Linked DNA regions of Homo sapiens: region 1 is linked to region 2. Evidence: promoter capture Hi-C in 16 types of primary human blood cells and fetal thymus (Javierre and others, 2016). All regions are on one chromosome and are shown on one strand. Each heading gives the region's core, a stretch centred on a gene start or on the middle of the fragment in contact. The rest is flanking DNA. Distances are from core to core; before and after follow the strand shown. Region 1 overlaps ZBTB21 (zinc finger and BTB domain containing 21). Region 2 holds the start of C2CD2 (C2 calcium dependent domain containing 2).

Region 1 (6,778 bases), core at 4,036-6,535, 53 kb after region 2:
ACAATTATAGACTTATGGCTAGCATCTGTCTAGTGTGTGCTAGAACCCTTCTAGACATGGAAGATATCAATTTAACAAGTATGGCCCTGCCTCATGGAGCTTAAGGTCTTGTGCAGGAAGAGAACAGGTCAATTCATCAGCCTAGTCCAGTATGCTGAGCAGCAGACAGGATGTTTGCAGAGGTAGAGACGCAGTATAGATGACAGGCATCAGAGCCAGGTGAGATGGAGGCCAGGAAGGGCGTTCTACGAAGAAAGTTTTATAGGGAATGCTGGGAAGAGATAGGAAGGATGAAGGACATTTCGAGGGACGAGTATTTATTTTCCATTCCTTTCAGTAGAACAGTAACTAGGTACTCAATAACAGCTATAATTTGGGTGCTTATTCTGCCACACACACAAAAGAAAACACTTTTAATGTATTAACTCAATATTGACATCAACCCTAGGAGTTAGGTACTATTATTATCTCCATTCTACAGATGAGAAAACCGAGGCACAGAGGGTTAAGTAACATGCTCAATGTCAGACAGATAATAAGTAGCAGGGCAAGATTCACATCAGCTGGCTGGGCTGCAGTACATGCAACACTACAGAGACAAGACAGAGCAGGAGGAATCCAAGGGAACCACAGGTGGCTTTGCCTGGTGAAAGGTAAAGGTACACATAGGGGAGGAAATGCCCATGAGGCTGGAGGAAGATGGAGGCATGAGCGCCCTGGGGGCTAAAATATGTCATCTGAGGATCTTGCACAGGAAAGCAACATTGTCCATTCTCCCCAGTACCCCAGGATCTAGAGACTCTAGATGTCTAGATAGGAGACAGGGGTAGCTAGGAGATGCAGATCCCTCACCTTCACATTAAGGCCCTTGTTTTTTTTACATTTTAATTCAATTATTAAGTTTTGAAAACAATGTACCCTTTCCTAGTCTGGCTGCAGACAGACAATTAACATATTGAATTTTTGTGTTTTAATGACAGTCAGTATATTTGAGTTTAACAATTACCTAAAAATATAAAATGCTCCATCCATCAAGAATGTAAGTAAAAAGGGGGAAAATCACAACTGCTGACGATCACGAGATAATCCAGCAAGACTGTTTGTGGCTGGTGGCTGTGTACACCGAATCCTCAAAAACTTTTGATTTCTCTGCTCTTCTGCTGTCAGATAAGGCGAGCTTTGTTGCCGGGTGTACTTTCTCCTCAGTGTATTTTTCAGATCTAGACCGATAAGTTTGCTGGCACATCACTCCAAATTTCCATGCAGGTTTTCATTATGAGTAATCAGGGCCTCCGACTTACAGAAGCAGTGCATCTTACACATAAACACGCACTGCTGCCACCACCGTCTACGCCCCTCCTTTCCACGGCTCATCTCCACCTGACTCATCACGGCAGAACTTCTGCCACTTCAGTCATGGTGGAAAAACCTTGGAGCTCTTAAAAGACCAGTGGGTGAAATTTGGAGAAAAGGTCTATTTACGAGCAACAGAAAAAACTAAGAGGAAAACCCCCCAGGAAAACCAGTTTCTAAAATAGGGCCGGCTTGCTTACCACTTTGATCCTCGCACACAAATAGCTTCCCAAAGCCTTCCTGGATTGTTTCTACTTCATGTCTTCTGAAATTTCAAAATGAGAGAATCTTTATGGTTAACAATTCACAGAAGACCTTACAGTTCCATGGAAAAGCCTTTCGAATCAGTCTATTTGTCTCAAATCCTGGCTCCGCCACCTATTAGGCATGGAACCTTCTAAAGATGACTCAACCTTTCTGACTAGTTTCCTTACCTGTTAAACATGGCTAACACTACCCACCACATAGGATTTTTATGAAGGACAGAAGAGGCAACATGTTTGAAAGCCCCAGTACGTTCAGCACTTCCCATGTGGCACATGCACATCTTCCTTCCTTCTCCACTTCCCCTCACAGATGCTTGCGTGGGCCTGCTACCCACCACACATCACAAGAGGTGCTGGTGATGGGGAGATGAGTAACTGGCCTGCTTCTTGTTCTCCTGTAGCTCACATTTCCATGTTAGGACAGACAATAATTAACAAAGGATGTGAAGAATGCTACGGGAATACTGATTCCAGGAAGCAATTAATTTGGCCAGGGTGTAGGAGGGTGGAAGAGTGAATAGTGGGAACTATTCACTATTAACTATGAGTGAATAGTCCTAAGGAAGGCTTGGGACTCATCACTCCTTTGACAATTATAATACAAGCTGAATATCTCTAGTCCAAAAACCCAAAACTACTTTCTGAGCAACGACATGATGCACAAAGGAAAGGCTCATTAGAGCATTTTGGACTTTTGGATTAGGGACGCTGAACCACTGGGTATAATGAGAATATTTCAAAATCCCAAACAATCTGAAATCTGAAACACTTCTGGTCCCAAGCATTTCAGATAAGGGATAGTCAACCTCTAATACTAAAGGTTCCATTCTTTACATTTCTACTATAGACGCTTTTCAGAAATGCTCATCTGGCCTTGCTGGGGCTTAAAACCTTCCAAGGGCTTGCCCTGGCCTCAACTTCCAATTCCCTGGAATGGCTACAAAACCCTTCAGAACTGGATTCCAGAAGATTATTTCATACCATCACTTCAAATTCCTCAGGTAATAAATGCTAAGGGGGTGGGGGACTCATATCTCACATCTTTTTTTTTTTTTTTTGAAGAGTCTCACTCTGTCACCCAGGCTGGAGTGCAGTGGCATGATCTTGGCTCACTGCAACCTCCGCCTCCTGGGTTCAAGCAATTCTCCTGTCTCAGCCTCCTGAGTAGCTGGGACTACAGGCGCCAGCCACCAGGACTGGCTAATTTTTGTATTTTTAGTAGAAATGGGGTTTCACCATATTGGTCAGGCCGGTCTCGAACTCCTGACCTCAGGCGATCTGCCCACCTCGGTCTCCCAAAGTGCTGGGATTACAGGCCAGCCACCTGTAAGATATGAGCCACCGCGCCCGGCCTCATATCTTAACATAAATTAATTCAATGCAAATACTTTCCTCTTTATAGAGTGTTAAATCAGTTGTATGGAATTAAGATTTTTGAGGGAGAGGGAAGGTAGGCAATTTCGAATATAGAGCATTCTAGTGAGAAGCAGAGGAAAGCAAAGCGACTTGGCACTCAGAAGGGTACCAGGGGGTGAGTGAGGGGGTGAGAAACAGAGATGGAAAGGGATCAAAATAATCTCACCTACTTGGACTAGTGTCATAGCTAAGGTACACTATAAATTAAGTTGGCTCCCAGACTAGCCACAAAACTGCTACTACCAGTTCTACAGGAAAATGGCTCTTTACATCCAGCATCAACCTAGATTTCAACTCTGGGAACATGGGTCCTTTGGAATGTTGGGGATTGCTTCTATAGTCCTAACCATGATACTAGAAAAAAGAGGGAATGCATGTAACACAAGGCAAATACCTAGTTAAAAAAACAAAGCATCTACATTTGACTTTGGAACATAAACACACACACACAGACTGCTTATCCCCAAACCCTCATTTCAGGATTTAGCCGTAACACCTACCATTGGATTTTACTATTTGATGGTGATAGGAAGTTGCCTCTGAGTTTCGGTCTTATCATCACTCACTTGGTGACAACGCAAATATCCTCAGATTTCAAACCTAGACTAGCTTATCCAATCCTTCAAGAGGAGTCATGTTACTATCTTGTATTCCATTTCACCACACTTTCAGTCTCTAACAAGGGGGTTTGATTTTGGTTTGATGGTTGTTCTTGGCCACATTCAGGAGAATGATCCTACTCCAACATAGTTCAAGCTCCTTTGCACCTTAGCAGAGCAGACTCTGGTCACAGCCTTTGCTGTTTTCTTCCAGCCACTACACAGCCATTCCACCTCCTGTTAACAGCCCCATGATTTTGCTATAGAAGAACTGCTCTTGTCCCACTGTGTGCTACAGCCTGATGTGCTCCTCTCCCCTACCTCTGGGCTAACCATACAACCAAAGCCAAACCAATCAGAAACTTTGTCCTCGGAATATGAATCCTGAGAAGAATGACAAAGGCAATAAATAAATGAAGCTGACTTATCTCAACGGAGGCCTGAAAATGCAACCTTGCTAGTGCCTGCTACATAGATTCCTGGAGTTAGCTTGGTTTTTGTCCTTCTTCCTGGCCCAGTTTTTTAGCTTTTCTTTTAAGTCCAAGAGCAACCCTGTATCTTTACAATAAACTACTTTTTCCATTCAAGCCAGACAGTTTCTGTTCTTGTTATTAAAGAACCCTAATATATTTCCACGTGGTATTCACTGTTCCTTGTCATGCCTTCCAAACCCATCCTAATACAGCTTCTAGACTGAGCTTCTTAGAACAAAGCTTTGATCGCTCACCCAACATACACGTTAAATATTCCTATTATTAATTCAACTTATTTACTGAATTCCAATTCTGTACAAGGCATGGTTAGATTTATCTGAAATATAGGGGTGCACCAAACAGACAAGACCCCCACTTTCTAGTGAGATAAATCAGATGCTAAGGAAACAAATAAAAAAGACAACCTCAGATTCTGCTAAAAGTTATGGTGGAAATAAATAAGGTGCTATATCGCTGGATGCAGTGCCTAGAGAGGATGGTCAGAAAATACCTTGATGGAATATTTCAGCTGAGACCTAAGATCTGAATGAAGAGAACCAGCTTTGATCCTGTTTAAAAATAAAATAATAAAAACAATTGTTCTCCATTAGGCTAAAATTTTTAAAACAATGACTAAAGGTCTCTATAAAATCTGGTTTCAAATGACTTTTAAAATTTTCTTAGCCAGGTGTGGTGGCTCATGCCTGTAATCCCAGCACTTTGGGAAGCCAAGGCGGGTGGATCACCTGAGGTCAGGAGTTCGAGACCAGCCTGGCCAACATGGTAATACCCTGTCTCTACTAAAAATACGAAAATTAGCCGGGTGTGGTGACGGGCGCCTGTAATCCCAGCTACTCGAGAGGCTGAGGCAGGAGAATCGCTTGAACCTGGGAGGTGAAGGATGCAGTGAGCTGAGATCGTGCCACTACACTCCAGTCACCACTGGGTGACAGCTGAGCCAGAGCGAAACTCCGTCTCAAAAAAAAAAAAAAAATTTTTTTTTCTTTCCCTTAGTTATTCCCTAGTGATCCCTTTCTGCTCCAGATACTCTGTCTCTAAGACCTAACCTGCACATCTGACTTCTCCCACTCCCCAATCTGGAAAGTCCTAGAACTCACCTAAACCCCTCCTCAGCACACTACTCAGAATATTAATCACCTTTCAAAGCTCAGGTCAAGTTCCAGCTACTCCATAAAATCTTCCATTATGGGTTGAATTGTGTCCCCACTCTTCCCTCCCAAATTTATATGATAAAGACTTAGCCTCCAGTACCTGGAGAATGTAGTCATACTTGGAGACATGGTCTCTAAGAGGTAATTAAGTTAAAATGAGGGCTTTAGGGTGACCCCTAAACTGATGTAACTGGTGTTCTTACAGGAGAGGAAGATTAGCACAGAGACATGAACAGAGGAAGGACCAAGTAGGGACAAGAAGATGCCATCTATAAGCCAAAGAGAAGCCTCAGAAGAAGCCAACCCTGCTGACACCTTGTTCTTGGACTTCTAGCTTTCAGAACTGTGGGAAAAGAAATCTGTTGAGTCATCCAGTCTGCAGTACTTTGTTATAGCAGCCCAAGCAAATGAATATACCTTCCTTGACTACTTCATCTTATAACGTGCAAATACCTCAACTTCAGCACCATTTACATGTTTATTCACTGCCTTTATTGTTAGTCATTTGTGTCTCCCCAAGAGGACTGAAAGCTATTTAAAGACTGATAATCTATTTAATATCTTTTGGCATTATCAATGCTCAACATGTTATCTTCCACAACAATAAAGATTTGACTTTTCTGTACTCTTCACTCCAATTAAATGCACGAGTGAAAATTATGGCTGTTAGTTGTTTTGCTGAAGTAAAGCGTATTACATCACTGCCCTGCTTTGGAGTACTGTACTGATTTTTCTATTCCTAAAGAAAATCCAAACTACAGACTGGCATACAAGACTTTTCATACTCTGGTTACAATTCATCTCTCCACCCTTATTGGACACTACTTACCATCTACTCTACAAACTTGCATATCCAGCCTCTGCCACCCAAAATCTCTCTCTTCCCTCTCCTTTACTTGGCTAACTTCTTTCGAAAGATCCAGTTGAAATGTCACCGACTCTACAAAGCTTTTGTAATTTGCCCCTAGCCAGCAGCTCAGTCATCTAAACTACCACAATACTTCATCTCTCTGTAATAACACCACAACTTCTTCAATTAATCTTCTTTTACATGTGTCTCCCCCAAGGGACTCCCTAAAGAAAGAACCCTTGTTTGCATGCACGTATCCCTGATGCCCAGCACAAGGCCTGGCAAGCTAGGTACAGGGCAAAGAGAGAAATCATCAAACTTGAGGCTCAAGACCTGGACTGGCTCACCTTTATTTCTCCAGCATCCGTTACAGAGCCCCAAAACGTGGCAGTATTCTTTGCTTTTTCTATTAGACCTTGTGACTTTAATCACTACTGGACGATGATTCCCAAATCTGTATCTCTGTTTAGACTCTTGAGGCTCCAGCCTCTCAGGTACCTACTGAACGGTTCCATCACAGTATATCCTCAGGTCCAGCATGGTACTTAAACTCCACAACTCTCGTCCCTGCTCCCACATCTGTTTGTCCTCACATATTCCCGATTTACTTTGGTGTGTTGCCAGACCCTAAAATTTCTTCTCTTTCCCT
Region 2 (7,246 bases), core at 3,570-6,069:
AGGAGACTGTAGGACAGCAGTCCCGGAGACTCCCAAGGGGATGTTGGGGGTGTAACTGATTATCATGGACCACTTTGTAAATATTGATGTAATCGCAGGGGAGCAAAAGGAAAAGCTCAACTGCTGCTTTTGGATACCATAATATTAGTTCTCAGTCTAAGGAGCCTGACCTGAGACTGAGCCAGTTCTGGGATCTTCTGTTCTGTGTGACCAAAGAGTGATCACATCAATGGGAATTAGGGGTCTGCAACACCACACCAAGTGGAGAGGCAAGAGTCAAAGCTCAAACAATTGCTTTTACGTGGTGCTGGGTGAAAGAGGAACTCTATTTACACTGTTGGTGGGAGTGTAAATTAGTTCAACCATTGTGGAAGACAGTGTGACGATTCCTCAAGGATCTAGAACTACAAATACCATTTGACCCAGCGATCCCATTACTGGGTATATATCCAAAGGATTATAAATCATGCTACTATAAAGACACATGCACACATGTTTATTGCAGCATTATTCCCAATAGCAAAGACTTGGAACCAACCCAAATGCCCATCAATGATAGACTGGATTAAGAAAATGTGGCACATATACACCATGGAATACTATGCAGCCATAAAAAAGGATGAGTTCATGTCCTTTGCAGGGACATGGATGAAGCTGAAAACTATCACTCTAAGCAAAGTATCACAAGGACAGAAAACCAAACACCGCATGTTCTCACTCATAGGTGGGAGTTGAACAATGAGAACACATGGACACAGGGCGGGCAACATCACACACCAGGGCCTGTCAGGGACTGGGCGGCTGGGGAAGGGATAGCACTAGGACAAATACCTAATGTAAATGACAAGTTGATGGGTGCAGCAAACCAACATGGCACACGTATACCTATGTAACAACCTGCACGTTGTGCACATGTACCCTAGAACTTAAAGTATCATAATAAAAAAAAAAAGGAAAAAAAAGAAAGAGGAACTCTGATGGATGGCAAGTGTGTACTAGCAGCTTCTCACCAGTGATTCTCAACCATGGGACACTCTCAAAGTGTGCTCCCCAAGCCTACTGAGGCGGATGTGGGGGGCAGGCACGTGTGTCACTAAGCTCTCTGGGCAAGACTCCTGTGATCCCTGCACACCTGGCGTCCACCTGGCCAGCAGGCAGATCAGCAATGGTTTCCTCCAAAGTCAGTGCAAATCACTGTCACATATAATTTAGACCCCTTTCTGGAGTGAGGGTGGGAATCCGAGGTCCCCTGCAATACGGGGAGTCAGTGCTGCTGCAGTGGTCATCAGAGAGCAGGAGGACTCCTCCGGTGCTGACCAGTCCTTGGATCCTGGAAGGTGCGAGCCCCACTGTTTGGGATAACACATTAACAACTCTACTCTCTGAGCTCTTCTCGCTGGCTCTCATTTAAAGGAAACATTTAGGTCTCCAAGTTGATACTGCATCCCACCAGGGAACAGGCTGCAGCCACCAATGCGCAGACCTTGGCAAATTCCTCCAGTTCACGGGCCTCAGTCTCCCCTTCTGGAGAAGGGGCTTGGCTAGAAGAGTTTAGGGTTTCTTTCCATCTTAAAATACAAAGGTGGGGTAAAACTTGGAATGGGAGGAGTTATTGTCTCAATTGGACAGAAAATTCCACTTTTCAGACAGAATGCTGGACATGATTAAGTTATTACCAGTGTCTTCTCAATCCCTAAGCGACAGGCCAAGAACTGGTCTCCTCCCTGGGTAGGACAGAGTGATATCAGGACAAGGCAGAGGCAGGAGGGGGAGCACTAAGCTGTAGCTGTCCAGGCGAGAGCGGGCTTGGAGTGTCAGCCCTAATCCGGGATTAGTGGGAATGGAGGTGGGGGAGGGCAGCCACGAATGGACACAGCAGCCCCTGCTCTCCCACACCGCCATCACTGTCACAACAGCGATGGCCCAGGATGCTGGGATGTGTGTGACAATCGCTGGACTCGGGGCGGCCAGGAATGCAAACACCACTACCTGCTCACCCACAATGCCATCACTGACACGGCAGCGACGGCTCAGGATGCCGGGAGGGTGTGTGACCGTCACTCACAGGGAGCCCAGTCACCCAGATCCTATCTGCCTGCAAAACCTTCCATTTGAATGCAAATCAAATGACATTCCCAGGCATCAGGGCTGTGTTCCCCCACCCCCGTCCCCAGGAAAGTAAGCAATACCAAAAACTGACATCACAGAACTAATGGACTATGTCCATGCAAAAATGCCAGAGATGGCCCTGGGTTGCTTTGAGCATGAATCCGGGACACTGTTGCCTCTTCCAGGCAGGAGGTCAGGAGAGACAGGTGTCTGAGACTGCAGTGTGTGGCCAACAGCAGAGAGAGAACAGAGAAGGCGCAAACAAGGTGAGACCCTCTCTCCTCTCCCTGAACGCAACCCCTCCCTGCTCCCACACAAAGACTCAAGTAAAAAGTTTTCATCCAAAACTTTCAAATATTTCTTTCAGTGTTCTCAGATTGACTTGACCAGCCTAAGACAGATGCCAGGGACATCCTCTTCTCTGCCTCTCAACACTTCAGTCAGATGGGAATATGGAAGGATCATATCCAAGAGGATCATATTTTCTGAAGCCAATCCATAGATGTCAGGAAACGAACCATCCCAAATATACAGGAGGTAGGGTCACTGCCTCTAAGCCTGAAACTCCAGAGTTAGAAGCTGAACTTAAAGGTCATTCACCCAACACTTGCCTGCCTCCTACAAAGGACACAGATGAGACTGGTGCCCAATCAAGCCACCAGCCTGGAGGGGACTCAGCCTCAGAAGCCTTGATTCCAGGTCAGTCAGGGGTCAGTGATGGCAGCTTCCTGGGGAAATACCTGCATTTGCTCCTGGATGTGAGGCCAACAGGGGTGGAGGGCTCCCACAAGAGACAGCTGGTTTCCCTGAGACACTCTCCAGCTCTGGACAGCTGAGGCACAGATTCTGGGCACCAGGACAAAAGTCAGTCAACTGACCCTGAAGCCTTTTTCCTCCAAAAAGTACAGTCATTTATGTTCTTTTTCAAGAGTTCAAAACAAGGTCTCTTGATTTGTTGGATGGCTGCTAACTGATAGTCAAAGCTTTTTTGTTTTTTAATTCCATGGCCATGTCTTCCAAGGCCATGCACAAGGACCAGGCACAGGGCCCGCCATGGAATATTTTGAAGGTTGATGGGGCCGGACATTGAAAATGAGCAATTCTGCTATTTCCACAGCGAATGACCACTGAGCTGCACAGGCATGTGCAGGAAACTGTGGCCTGGAAGGGCGGAGCAGCGGCCAAGACTAGGGGTGCCTCCCCAAACCCACCCAGGCTCCAACTTCTCCTGTGAAATGCCTAAGAATAGTACATGCCAGGAGCTTGTCGTTATACTAAGATGTCTTAAAAGCAAAAATAAGTCAACGAGTAATCAGCGACTACAGAAACACCCACAGGACTGTGAGGCAGCAGAGGTAAGACACGAGGCCCTTAGCTTGCAGGCCAGGGCAGCTGGATTCACATGCCAGCTCTGCCGCCCACGAGCTGTGTGGCACTGGGCAGGCTGCTTGCCCTCTCCGGGCCTTGGTTTCCTCATCTGTAAAACAGTGATAACACCCCTGTCCCGGGAGTTGTGAGGATTCAGAGATGGCAGACGCACCGAAAGCCTCGGTAGGATGTCTGCCCAGCGGCTGGCCCTCAGCAAACGGTCACTATTTTTATATGCCAAGAAATGCAAGTCTTTGGAGATAAATTCTTGGTGAAATTCAGCTCTATGAGAGGCGGAAGCACATTGGGGTCACAGCTATTCATGTATCATGTGCAAGCTCAGTAAGTGTCCGATCGGGCACGGGAATTCGCCCCGGGACTCCAGGCAAGGCAGGTACTGGCTGGCGCGGATGAGCACTTCTGACGGTCCCTCCAACTGCCAGCCTGTCCCTCGCGGAGCCCAGGGCCTGGAGCACCTGCCGTTTGGAGAATAAAATCAATCACTTTGTCTTGTCTCTCCGTCAAGGGGCCTCGCTCCCCCGTCTCTCTCCTAACTCTCGAGGATGGTCTGCGCTGGGGGGAGGACTCCCTTAGCCTGGGTCAGGGGCTGCAGCGACGCCTCCAGGAAAGACCTCGGCCCGGACCGCCCGCCCCGGCATCTGCCGCCCCCCGGCCCGCAGTCCCGGAAACTCACCCCTTTCCTCTCGGCCTCCTCGTTCAGGGCGGTCACCCAGGCCGCCTGCCACTGGCTCCTCCAGCTGCCCAGCGTCAGGATCCAGGAGAGCAGCGCGTCGGACCCCGGGCGCGGCCCCTCTCCAGGCTCCACCGCCCGCCGCTGGGGCTGGGGTCGCGCCCTGGCCAGCGCCCACTGCGCCAGGTACAGGCCTACCGTGGCCAGGGCCGCGACGAAGAGCGACACCAGCGCGAGCCACTGCGCCTCCCCGAGCCACGAGCCCAGCCGGGCCATGGCCATGGCGCATCCCCGGCCCGCCTCGCCCCAACTTCCCCGGCAGCCCCGGGCCGGAACGGCGGACTCAGGACACGCGCTGGCTGCGGCCACAGCGCGCTGGGGGCGTGGAGGGGGCGCGGCGGGGTCGGAGCCCGGCGAGGAGCGTGGCCGGGGGCCTCTGGGCGGGCAAGCGGGGAGGAAACGCGCGGCGGCCGCGGCCCGGGCTGGGCGCAAGCCCCGCACACCTGCGGAACAGGGGCGCGAGCGGACCCCGCGGCCCGCGCTCCCGACTCGGCGTCTGGGAAGTTCCTGGGCCGCTGCGGGCCGCGCTTCCTCCTGCGCGCGCCGCCCCGGGCGTCCCGCCCGCGGCCCAGCGGTGGCCGGAGGAGGCTCTGGCCGCGGGGCGGGGCGGGGCGGGGGCGGTGCCCGAGGGAGGGGGCGCGGCCGGGCCTGCGGGGGCCGCAGTCCTCCCCCCTGCTCCCAACGCGGCGTGCCCCCGCCCCCCTAAAGGCCCGGCCTTCCCGGCCCCGCCACGTGCGCGCGTCGCCCGCCCCTCCGGCGCCTGCCCGCGGGCCGCGAGGTGACCCGGGCCTCCGGATTCATCAGCCCAACCCCGGCGGCTGCTGTGCGGCTGCTTGGCTTGGCTCGTGTGCGCGCTTGCACAAGTGCGTGTGTGTGCACATGTGTGAGTGTGCGTGTGCACAGCGCGCAGTCAGGGTGATTTCGAGGACTGCCATTTGCTCGCCAGCGAGACAGGATCCAGGCTCAGTCCTCGGAAAGTCCCTGGAAATCCGTGGCTGCCCCTGGAGCCAGGGGCTGGGCCTGCCTTAGGGGGCGTGCTTCTCAGAGGCAAGGAGGGGCTCAGCACCAGGCCCAGGCCCTGCCTTCTGTGTGGCTGTGTCATTCATTCAGTGTGCGGGTGGGGCGGGGGTGCATGTGGTGTGATGTGTGTGGCGCATGTGGTGTGATGTGTTGTGGGTGTGGTGTGTGGTGCACAGGATGGTGTGAGTGTGTATGTGTGGTGCATGGGTGTGGTGTGTGTGTAAGCGTGGTGCATGTGGTGTGGTATGTGTGTTGCGTGCCAGTGTGGTGCATGTGGTGTGTGTGATGTGTAAGCGTGGTGCATGTGGTGTGGTGCGTGTGTGGTGTGTCGGTGTGGTGCATGGGTGTGTGTACGTGTGATGTGTAAGTGCACAGCATGTGGTGTATGTGTGTGGTGTGTGGTGCACAGGATGGTGCGAGTGTGTATGGTGGTGCATGGGTGTGTATGTGTGATGTATAAGTGCAGTGTGTGTGGTGTGTGTGTGTGGTGTGTGTGTGTGATGTGTAAGCGTGGTGCATGTGGTGTGGTGCGTGTGTGGTGTCGGTGTGGTGCATGGGTGTGTGTACGTGTGATGTGTAAGTGCACAGCATGTGGTGTGTGTGTGTGGTGCATGTGGTGTGTGTGGTGTGTATGTGTGATGTGGTGTGGTGTATGTATGTGGTGTGTCAGTGTGGTGCGTGTGTGTGTGGTGCACAGGGTGATGTGAGCGTGTGTGTGTGGCACATGGGTGTGGTGTGGTGCTGTGTGTATATGTATTGTGTAAGTGCGTTGCATGTGGTGTGGTTTGTGTGTGTGGTGAACACGGTGGTGTGTGTATGTGTGGTACATGGATGTGGAGTGTGTGTATGTGTAATGTGTGAGTGCGGTGCATGTGGCGTGGTGTGTGGGTGGTGTGTCAGTGTGGTGCATGTGGTATGGTGTGTGTGTGTGTGGTGTGGTGTGTGGGACATGCCCCTGTGCCCTCCTCTTGCAGAGTGGACGCGGTCCTTAGGGAGTGCCATAGAAACATACTAGCCTGAGATTCTCCGGGGCCTAAAACAGGCCTAAACCATAAAAAAGTGATTCCCCTGTTATTTTCTGCAGCTGTATTAAGGGGACTTGACCTTGAAAGGAATTAGATAGACTGAGCATTTGGCCTTCTCTTCCCTAGCCAGGAGTCTGCTGCGGGGCCAGTGGATGGTCCATCAGAGGGGATTCTGGCCCTGAATCCGTGGGCCCGGATTTTCTTCAGGAAAGAGGAAGGAATGGCACAGCAGCTGGACGGAGAGCCTTTGTGGGGAACAGGATAGGACGCTGTCAGGGAGGTGAAATTAGACGGGGATTGCCCAGGTGAGCTGGGGATGGACCCTTGCGAGCCAGGTCTGTTATCAGAAAGTGGAAATAAGAATGAGACTATCCATCCTGGCTAACATGGTGAAACCCCGTCTCTATTAAAAACACACACACACACAAAACTCAGCCGGGCGTGATGGCGGTCGCCTATAGTCCCAGCTACTCGGGAGGCTGAGGCAGGAAAATGGAGTGAACCCGGGAGGCGGAGCTTGCAGTGAGCCGAGATCGCGCCACTGCACTCCAGCCTGGGCGACAGAGCGAGACTCCGTCTCAAAAAAAAAAAAAAAAATTAAGAATGAGACCATCAGCATCCTGCAAGTGACCCATGTGTTACACACGAGCGCTCCAGTCTGCCGCAGCCTCTTAAGGGTGGGGGGAACTGCTCTTCTTTTCTTCTATTCTGTGTTATTTTAGGCAGAAACAAAAGAAATCCCTTCTTATTTGGCAGAAAAGTCTAATTATGTTCTGACCTGTAGCTAGACCTATGCAGTCAGATAATTCGAGTCCTGCTGGTCCCCTTGCCAGAATAACCGGGGTGAGGAATCCGAGGGCCCAGTGTTCCCCGTGCCATGTGTGCACACAGGCCGCCTGCGGCTGTGTGGGCAGTGACGAGAGCCTGTCCTGTGTGACCGGTGGAACCCGTCTCATTCCTTCAGGTCTCAGGT

Evidence for each region. Contacts are between HindIII fragments. The CHiCAGO score rates a contact against its expected background, and 5 or more counts as called.
Region 1: a contact is called between a fragment that was not itself captured here and the fragment with the promoter of C2CD2 in region 2, in 1 of 17 cell types (endothelial precursors). The highest score is 5.9, in endothelial precursors.

The regions. Positions count from the first base shown.
Region 1 is chr21:42,001,344-42,008,121 of GRCh38, forward strand. ZBTB21 (zinc finger and BTB domain containing 21) reads right to left here. Exons shown (of 3, transcript NM_001098402.2): 2 at 1,554-1,618. Among named protein-coding and RNA genes, the nearest start is that of ZNF295-AS1, 4.5 kb to the right of the region's middle. The HindIII fragment of the contact is 1,880 bases long and covers 4,346-6,225 here.
Region 2 is chr21:41,949,199-41,956,444 of GRCh38, forward strand. It overlaps C2CD2 (C2 calcium dependent domain containing 2), which reads right to left and starts at 4,820. Exons shown (of 14, transcript NM_015500.2): 1 at 4,172-4,820. The coding sequence starts at 4,450. RefSeq lists enhancers at 1,408-1,913, 3,792-4,566, 6,922-7,001 and a silencer at 4,443-5,112. The HindIII fragment of the contact is 8,952 bases long and covers 3,091-7,246 here.